3 separate regions of the Homo sapiens genome follow, and regions 1 and 3 are each linked to region 2. The links are contacts of gene promoters, found by promoter capture Hi-C in human tissues and cell types (Jung and others, 2019). All regions are on one chromosome and are shown on one strand. The core of a region is centred on a gene start or on the middle of the fragment in contact, and the rest is flanking DNA. Distances in the headings are between cores, read along the strand shown.

Region 1 (3,279 bases), core at 423-2,922, 150 kb before region 2:
CCACAAAAACATCAAGTCTCTCTTATTCTAAAAATTTCCATTCTCTCCAGTTCTATTCAACATACTTCCTCATAATCTCTGCCAAACTTCTTAGAAAATATAGTGCATTTTCATTCATCCTATACCAGTCCTCATTGAGATAGAGAGTTCTAGCTGCCTATCTTGTATCCACACTCCTGTTCTTTGTACCTAACTGCTCCCTGATCAATGCCCACCTGAAATATTTTATTTCCCAGTCTTTCTGACCACTGTTGATCTTCAATGGGTTCTAAGCAGAGGTTAGGTGGACTTTTTTAAAAAAGTGTCATAAACTAAGTTTACAATATTGACATGTACCTTCTTGCCATTAGTTCTTTCTCCTTCCTCCTGTCTGGAATACAGGCGCAGTGGCCAGAGCTCCAGCAACCATCTTGGACAATGAAAAAACCTTCACAATGATAGCCATGGCGAAACACAGTGGAGTAGGAAGATAAAAGAGACTGAGAACCGGATAACCACGGAGTTCCATACCAGCTCTCCTGATACCTTTCATAAAAGAGTGAAATGAGCATCTACCTTTTTGTTTTGCTTCATTATTATTTGGCTGGGTTTTCTTTTAAGTTACCAATAGTCTATTTTTACTTGTACTTTAGCTGCTTTTATGTATTAATATACCATTGAATGCATGTAAATCTTCATATAAGTCATAAACTATGTAAGATTAGATAACACAGTAGACCCCACCCCAATTTACAGGAGCTATTTTACAAGACCCTCTATGGATGCCTGAAACTGTACATAGTACCAAACCCTATATATACTATGTCTCTTCCTATACATACATACTTATGATAAAGTTTAATTTATAAATTAGGCACAGTACTCTTGTGCTTTAGGGCCATTATTAAGTAAAGTAAGAGTTACTTGAGCACAGGGATACAATACTGCAACAATTGATCTGATAACCAAGATAGCTACTAAGTGATAATGGACAATGCCAGACAAAGGGAAGTTAAGCCTCAGGAGGGACAGCATGGGCCATTGCAAGATTTCATCATGCTGCTTAGAATGATGCACAATTTAAGATGTATGCATTGTTTACTTCTAGAATTTTCCATTTAATATTTTCAGACCACAGTTAACTTGGGTAACTGAAACTGTGGAAAACAAAACTGTGCCTAAGGGGGGACTACTGTGTTATTTAAAGCTTTAAACTTTAATTTCAAAAAATATACAACATTTTAAGAAAATATAGTTCAGTGCATATACCACATTGATTTTAATTAGTTGATCTTTTATATACATGTTTATCTATGCAAGAATATGTGTAAGAAGTGTATGGAAGTTCAGTTGTTTTCTGATTTTATGACTTCTGATAAGCTTAGGAATTCCTTAGATAAATAGGAATTATTTACTAATTATTTTTAAGGTCGTGCAGTCAAATAAAATTCACAGAAATGAATCTCAAGTTGATATTAGAGAAAAATGCAATCATTGTTAATATTAAAAATTCCTCAGTAAAAGAAATATATTTTAAGATTTTATGTATACACAAATTATTGTTTTTATTTGAGCCAAACTTAATTGATACACTCGTGTGCCCCTCAACCTCTAAAATCTTTTTTCATCTTTTTCCTCTAACAAAACTCCTCTCTTAAAGGTCTTTAGTTAACTCAAGTTGCCAAATTCAATATTTAAATGCTAAATCCAAGAGCCTCATGTCATTTCTCCTCTACTTTTGATCACACAAACCATTCTTCTTTTTTTTTCCTTCATTGTTCACTCCTGGGTTTTCTCTTACTTCTCAGATCAGTCTCTTTCATTTTCATTAACTCTTTTCTTCTAGCTCCCTGTTAAGTATTAGCTTCCTATAGTCTATGTCCAAGCCCAAGCATTTCTTCTTACTGTATATCTCATACAATGCCTAAACTTAACTTCCTATGATGACAATGCTTCCAAAACTTACATCTTAATCTGGATATTTTGCTTGAGTTCCACATTCATGTTTCATAGTTCTTGTGGCCCCACAAATATATCCTGTCAACAAATTTAGATGGGCGTAAAAGTCACTATCATTCCCTGAGAGTCTGTCACATTTTAGACTCTGCTCTGCTCCATGACTTGGGCAGGGAGGAGCAGTCCTACTGAAAACAGCCCACAATATCCTCACCCAAGAGGAAATGACAAAGATAAAAACCTTGTGCCTCTGAGTGAAAGCTCTCTGTTTCAAGTAAGGAAAGTCCAAATCTACCTGGTTTAAGTGAATAAGGAAACACACTGGCTCATATACCTGTAAATTTCTGGAATAAACTAGGGGCAGTATGGTTTGACCCAGTAGTTTAATCATTGTCTTCAGGAATACTAATTTTTCCTCTCTACTTCTTGGTTTTGTTTTGCACTTTGCTGGCTTCTTTCTCAATTATATTCATCTCAGTGGTAACGAAGATGGGCAATAACATCTATAAGCTTATATTTAACGAATTTAAAATTTTTAGTGGGAAGAAATTTCTTCCCCAATAATTCAAGCAAAACTCAAGGAATCATTCTCGTTGGCTTGGGCTAGGTCACCGTCCCCTAAGTGATCATTAAAACTTTCACTACCTCCCTTCCACCCAAATAAGTGGGCCCACTGACCTGGACCTCTTGATATTGTGATATAATAAGAAACATATAGTTGGGCTTCATCCATAGTTCCTGGCACAAAGCTTCTAAAACCCTTGTATTTTGTTATAATATTTGGTCTTTATGCCCAATTCTGGACACAGAGCTTCTAAAACCCTTGGAAGTTCCTGAGAGATAGGGGTCAGAGGACCATCTTTTGTTATTCATAATAAGCCTCTTTCAACCATACCTGAGTTTCTACTAATAAGATGACTTTTGATGGACTTCCAGATAGCTTCAGCATGAGAGCTTGTTGCTACAGGAATCAACCATTGATTAGAAGGTTGAAACTTTCAGCCCCATCCCCCAGCCTTTGGGGAGATAAGAGGGGCTGGAAATTGAGTTAATTATCAATGATCAATGATCTACTCAGTCATGCCTACATAACGGACATTGCATAAAAACCCTAAACAGTGGAGTCCGTGGTGTGACTGAGCCCTTAAATTGTGGGAGCTGATCCTAATTCCAGGTAGTTAGCATCACAATTGAATTAAATTGTAGGACACTCAATGGTGTCCTACAGTTGGAGAATTGGTTGTTGGTTTGAGGAAAACCCCCATACTTTTGGTATGAGAAGAAGTGTTCTGTGGGTAGAAAGAGATCCTAGTAGCCCACACCTATTTTCCTTTCTCTGCCCTG
Region 2 (3,177 bases), core at 136-2,635:
CCTGGGCCAGGCATGGCTCACGCCTGTAATTCCAGCACTTTGGGAGGCCGAGGCGGGCGGATCACCTGAGGTCAGGTGTTCCAGACCAGCCTGGCCAACGTGGAGAAACCCTGTCTCTACTAAAAATACAAAAATTAGCCGGGCGTGGTGGTGGGCGCCTGTAATCCCAGCTACTTGGGAGGCTGAGGCAGGAGAATCGCTTGACCCCGGGAAGCGGAGCTTGCAGTGAGCCGAGAGCGCGCCACTGCACTCCAGCCTAGGAGACGAAGCAAAAAACAAAAAACAACAACAACAAAAAACTAAAAAAGCGTTTCCTCAGTCCCTACCCCAGACCTATTGGATCACAATCAGCATTTTAACAAGACCCCCTAGGTGAGTCCTGTGTACTAGATGAGAGGATATATTTTGGATTGGTTTGAATCCCAGCTGAGCAGGTTACTACTGTGTGACCTCAAGCAAAGTGTTTAGATCATATAAGCCTGTTTCCTCGTCCACATGGTAAGGCACCTCAATGGGTTGTAGTAAGAATTAAAGAGGCTGAGGCTGTATGTAAGGCATTTTTCACAGAGCCTTCCAACAAATACCCAGTTAATAATGAAGCTCTTTTCATCGTATCATTTTGCACCATCTACAGCTGCTAACCATACTACACATCCATTCAGGATTCTGGAGCTGCTCAACAGGGAAGATTTCCAAAGCCCTCAAAGCCCTCCAAGCCCATGGGGTAGCGGGAAGGGGATGGGGACAGGAACACTGTCAGCAGTGCCTCTCCGAATACGCAGGATACTGTACATTTTGCAAAACATATTACTTATCGGATGATCTTGCTTTCAGATCTCCACTGCACGTGGCTTTATTGGAAACCTTCTGCTAGAGTCTAGACTCAGCCATGGAGTCTGGTGACCTGTGGGAGGGAGCAAGGGCCAGAATGCCTGCTAAATCGCTCTGGGTCCCCAGCCCTCTTCCTTAATCCCTTCTTAACTTTCCATCTGTCTCTGGTCTCCAGGGGTGCAGAACCACAACCCACCAGACCCCTCCTAGCTCCCGGCCCGGCGCTCAGCAGCCTGGGCTGCAACACTTTCCCCCAGGACCGGGAAGGCGGGGGAGGGGGTTTGGAGGGGGCGGAGCTCGGCCTCCTGCTGCCGCCGCTGCTGCTGCCGCCGCCGCCGCCTGCAAAGCTGTCGCCCCTCTCTCGGATGCTCAGGCTGGGCAGCGCTGGACAGATGGGTACACCCCGGGCCTGACGGATGAACAGTCGGGCAAGTGAACTCTCACCTCCAAACTGGCTCTGCGCCCGGCGGGGGCGGCGGCGGCGTCTGCAGCCCCGCGGTGGGGGCAGCCCCCTCGGTCTACGCCCGACTGCTGCGCGCCGCCTCTGCTCTTGGCATAGTAATTTCAGTTCCTGAACGCACGGAGCTCGCTCCGGGACCGGGCTGAGAAGGACCTCAGCTCGCGGGCCCGCCGGAGCCATCGGTGTGGCGCCGAGAGACGGTGCTTGGGATATGCGACGGGAAGCCCCCGCCACAGCGCAGGCAGTGGCCCCGCCGCGCCGCGGAGCCGGGCAGAGCAGGTAGGAGACGCCCCCTGCGCACCTCCGCCTGGCGGCCAGCGCGGGGGACCGGAGCCTGGTGGTGTGCTCTGTAGGGATGCGGAAGGGATTCGGTCCCACATTTTGCACAGGGATCCTTTGCCTGTTGCTCTTGTCTCTGTCCCATCCTGCGCTCTAGGAGGGGCAGTCTTTCTCGCAGGTGATGAATTTCTCTGCAAGGTCATTGCTCTCTTTGGCTCTGGCTTTGAAGGTAAATGGGAGAAGACGCCTGCTGATCGTGGGCAGGGAAATTTATAATCAATCGGGTCTGCACACTGCGAATATCCGAATATGAGGGGTGTGTGTGTGTGTGTGTGTGTGTGTGTGACATTTGTCTCATTTTCCTATGCTTATCCCCTTTAAGGTCAAAACATAGAAATATATATTACATATGGATGTATGTATGTGTGTGTATATACACACACATACATAAATGCATATGTAAATAGGTTTTCTTGAGGTAGGCAGAAAGAAGAGGAAGGGCGGGCAGGGGTTGATAAAGGGAAATCGTTGTAGAGACATGTTCACTAATAGAGGCGAACTTTGGAACCACATTAAATCAGGGTAGAGACTAGAGGTGATAAACGGTTCTTTCAAGATGGGCTTTAGAAGAGGTCTGAAGGAGCCTGTCAGCCAACACACACAGAAGATCTTCATGCTCTCCAGGCAGATGGAAACGATGTAGGCATCATTTCAGACGCAATAATGGACAGTGAAAGAGGGAAAAAAGGAGAGGTACTTAATATGCCACTGGGAAGTGAATTTTGGGTGATGGGAAGGCATCGAATCCAGACCAGGTTTCAAGGGCTTTCTGGAGGGCCATTGGGAGAAATCACCGCTTGGGGTGTAGGCAGTTCAAGGTTAAGACGATGTGAATGTCCACAAAGCAGCCGAGGAGGTGGGCAAAAGGCAAGGGCTTGGAGGGGGAGGGGAGAAACAGAGCTCTGAGCAGTCACTCAAGAAGCACCCACCTTTGAGTAAGGTGTCTTCTTCCTCTTGGTTAAAGCGGTACTTGGGTATGCTCCATCTAAATATTTTCACAACACATTTGTTTAAAGATCCATTGGACTATGTTTTTATTTTGTTTTTGCAAGGTATCTGGGTCATGGTGGGACTAGAAGAAACTGAAGTGTTTACAACACCAGCAAGATTTGGGAGAGAGGGTTGATTAAGGCTTTGCTTCATGAAATATTTACACATCTCCTGCGTGGGCTTTTGTTTGCTCTTGTTGGTGCTGCTGCATATTTTACTTTGATAATGCTTTGAGTGTACTTCGCCCGAATGTGCTTATTTTCCAGTTATAACCTATTCTTTCTTTTCCCATTGTGCTCACCATTGGCCTGCCCTGAGTAACAATTGTGGGAATAAAGGTACATGAGTCACAGCCCAAAGCAGAAAATCTCTGCTGCTATCTGCAAAAGACAGGAGTTTGCGTTAGAGAATGTTCTTTTTCGAGTTTTTGTGTGTGTTTAGTTTTTCAAGTTTTGTGTGTCTTTAATCGAGGGAATAGGTTATTGATTCAAAAGAGAAAAAAAAAACAGCAATTGCAATTGCAGGCCTAGATGTTATATGATTGAAATTTATTTTGG
Region 3 (3,387 bases), core at 641-3,140, 160 kb after region 2:
AGTTTGAAATAAAGGTGTCGGCAGGGCCACAACCATTCTGACAGTCTAGAAGAGAATCCTTCCTTGCCTCTTCCAGCCTCTTGTGTTTGCTGGTGATCCCACGCATTCCTGGCTTGTAGATGCATAACTCCAGTCCCATGGCCACCCTCCCTGTGTGTCTTCACATTATCTTCCCTCTGTCCATGTCTATGTCCAAATTTCCCCTTCTTATAAGGAAACCAATCATATTGAATTAAATCCCTCACCTTAACCTGGTTAAATCTGCAAAGACCCTAGGTGCAAATAAGGTAACATTCTGAGGTACTGGGGGTTAGGACTACAAAGTATTTTTTGAAAGGTACACAATTCAATCCATAACAATACATTTCCCTCCTCCAGAATAAATTCAGTGAGTACACTAGATTTAAAGTTTTGTCAAAGACCAGGAACTGAAATAAATGTCATACAGGACTTTCATCACTTGTATAGGTGACATTGTTTGGTTGTGTTCCAACCCAAATCTCATCTTGAATTGTAGCTCCCATAGCTCCCAGGTGTCATGGGAGGGAACTGGTGAGAGGTAATTGAATCATGGGGGTGGGTCTTTCCCATGCTGTTCTTGTGATAGTGAATAAGTCTCACTAGATCTGATGCTTTTATAAAGGGGAGTTCTCCTGCACGCTTTTTCTTGCCTGCCACCAGGTAAGCCATGCCTTTTCTTCTCCTTTGCCTTCCACCATGATCGTGAGTCCTCCCCAGCCATGTGGAACTGATGGCAGCAGTGGGCCATCTGGTGAGGCCACTGCCATCACACCGGCATCTACAGGGAGGGCATGATAGGAGGCAGACAGTCCCCTTTCCGCAGCCTGCCATCCTGGGGGCCACCGTAATGGGGCTGGATCACATGAGGGCAAGGGGGAGCTCCATGCTGCCCCGGAGCACTGGAGCCACATGAGGAGCTTGTGTCAACATTGCCCTGCCCCAGATACCAGCTCAGGCCCAGTGAGGACCTGGCGCCCCATCCCAGGCTGAAAGGGGTTGCGGCTAGGTGCCATGCTCCATAGATCTTGGTGGGACCCGGGGACAAGCAGGGGCCCTGCCTCTTCCAAGTTGGCAGAGAGGGAGCTCCCCCAGTGCAACTGCAGCTGCCCAAGCTGCAGCTGCAATTGGGCATACCTGTGCTCTTGGAAGCTGAGAATAAGCAGGAGCCAAGCCCTGCATAGCTGCAGCTGCCCCCCACCCCGCCTCCCTGCAAGCAGCTGCAGCCCATTGGCAAACCCAGGGATACCCGCACTCCTTGGGCATCTCCAAGTAGGGTTGGGGCCAAGCCTGGATGTTGTCACAGCCCAGATGGGTGTGCACACGTTCAGGGCAGTGCTGACATGCCAGCCCCCTGATGCCTCAGTCCTCTTCAGACTTTGGGCATGTAGGAACATGGGAAGGGAAGCTGAGGGGGCACTGAGGATGGCTGGGCACTGGCCTGCAGTTGCCCCTTGGTGCCAGCAGCCTGGGCCCCATGGATGACTGGGGAGACAGACATGCTCCTGGGTGGAAGGAGGTGGGTCCCCAGTGAAGTCTACCTTCAGGCTAGGATAGGCCTGAAGCCTGGGGCTGGGATGCCAGTTCTGCAGACCAGAGGAGGAACTCATGGTGCTTTTTCCTGAGCCCACCCATGGCTGTCCCTGGACAAATCAGCCCACACTTCTGCCTCTTCTGAGGCCCCATAAAAACCCTGGGCTCAGCCAGAGCAGGGCAGACGATGGAGAGACAATGGGACAACCAGCTGCAGAGAGGAGCTGCCCTCTTCACTGAGAGCTGCAGAGACAATGGGATGACCTGCTGGCAGAGAGGAGCCACCCACCGCAGGTCTCCTCTGAGCTGTTATAATACTCAAGAAAGCTCCTCTTCATCTTGTTCACCTTCCACCCTGTCTGAGTACCTTATTCTTCCTGGACACAGGACAAGAACTCAAGCAAAGGTGCACCAGCCACAAAGGTTTCCAGCCAGAAAAGCAATATCCGAAAGATCCTGCAATGGAACTGTGAATCCATTAAACCTCTTTCTTTTATAAATTTCCCAATCTTGAGTATGTCTTTATTAGCAGCAGGAGAACAGACTAATACAAAAGGCAAGATATAGTTTATTGGAACCATCAGGAAATTTAGAGATATTGATTAAGATGAATTTTTGCCTAGCTGGCTGGATCAATATCTTTGTAAATAAAGTATTGTAGGAATAAATATTCATATTCATAAAAGTGTGGATTTTTTTAGAGCTTACTAGTTTTGAAATACTGTTCTAAATGTCTGACCTGTATTAATTAATAATTCCTTTTATCACTCTACAGTATAAGTATTATTGTTATTCTCATTTTACAGTTGAGGAAACTGGGGCACAAAGAGATTAAGTAACTTGATCAAAGCCACACAACTATTAAGTGGCAAAACTAGGATTTGAACCAAGTAGTCTGGCACAAAAAGTTGTGCTCTTAATTACCATGAAATATCCTTGCATTTATATTCTAGTGGTGAAGCAAAACATATTACCATGATATGACATAAAAACAGTCATTTGTGCATATCAGAAATCAAAATGTTAATTAGCAAAAGAGAAGAACTGTACAGATTATTTTTTAAAGGCTGGCTGATGTGTTTAGTAATAACTTCAAAAACTTCAAGGAAAAGGTATATTATGAAAAAAATATTCATAGACTTCAAACTTTTTTGCACCAAAACAAACTCATACTAACTTGTCATAACAGGTCTGAACAGGATTTAGTTTGAGGCACTAAGAGGGTAAGACATCAGTTTGAAAAGAGCCCCTTACAGAGCAACATGAATTCTGTTGAAACTGAAGTAAGAACAAACATCACATTTATGATGAAGCTTTGGTGGAAGAATGGTGAAATCATTGATGATTTACAAAAAAGTTTATGGCCATGCACGGTGGCTCACACCTGTAATCCCAGCACTTTGGGAGGCTAAGGTGGGAGGATCACCTGAGATCAGGAGTTCAAGACCAGCCTGACCAATATGGTGAAACCCCATCTCTACTAAAAAATTGCCTGGCATGGTGGCGGGTGCCTGTAGTCCCACCTACACAGGAAGCTGAGACAGGAGAATTGCTTGAACCTGGGAGGCGGAGGTTGCAGTGAGCCAAGATTGTGCCAACGGCACTCCAGCCTGGGTGACAGCGAGACTCTGTCTCAAAAAACAAAAAAAAAACTTTATGGGAACAATGGCCTAAAGAAATCAGCAGTTTACAAATGGATAACTGGTTTTAAGAAGGGATGAGACAATGTTGAAGATGAACCCCACAGTGGCAAACCATCCACATTAATTTGTCAGGAAAAATTAATCTTGTTCATGCTGTAACTGAAGAGAATTGATTATTAACAGGAGAAACAAC

The links. Contacts are between HindIII fragments. The study calls those that stand out against the background at their distance.
Region 1: a contact is called between a fragment that was not itself captured here and the fragment with the promoter of GPRIN3 in region 2, in 3 of the 25 tissues and cell types used here (H1 embryonic stem cells, hippocampus and liver).
Region 3: a contact is called between a fragment that was not itself captured here and the fragment with the promoter of GPRIN3 in region 2, in 1 of the 25 tissues and cell types used here (liver).

The regions. Positions count from the first base shown.
Region 1 is chr4:89,457,320-89,460,598 of GRCh38, reverse strand. It overlaps LOC105377328 (a long non-coding RNA gene), which reads left to right. Exons shown (of 4, transcript XR_938981.2): 4 at 382-3,279. Among named protein-coding and RNA genes, the nearest start is that of GPRIN3, 150 kb to the right of the region's middle. The HindIII fragment of the contact is 4,473 bases long and covers 1-3,279 here.
Region 2 is chr4:89,306,008-89,309,184 of GRCh38, reverse strand. GPRIN3 (GPRIN family member 3) reads left to right here and starts at 1,385. Exons shown (of 2, transcript NM_198281.3): 1 at 1,385-1,570. RefSeq lists silencers at 1,306-1,375, 1,386-1,435. The HindIII fragment of the contact is 18,564 bases long and covers 1-3,177 here.
Region 3 is chr4:89,146,448-89,149,834 of GRCh38, reverse strand. No RefSeq gene overlaps it. Among named protein-coding and RNA genes, the nearest start is that of TIGD2, 37 kb to the right of the region's middle. The HindIII fragment of the contact is 5,835 bases long and covers 1-3,387 here.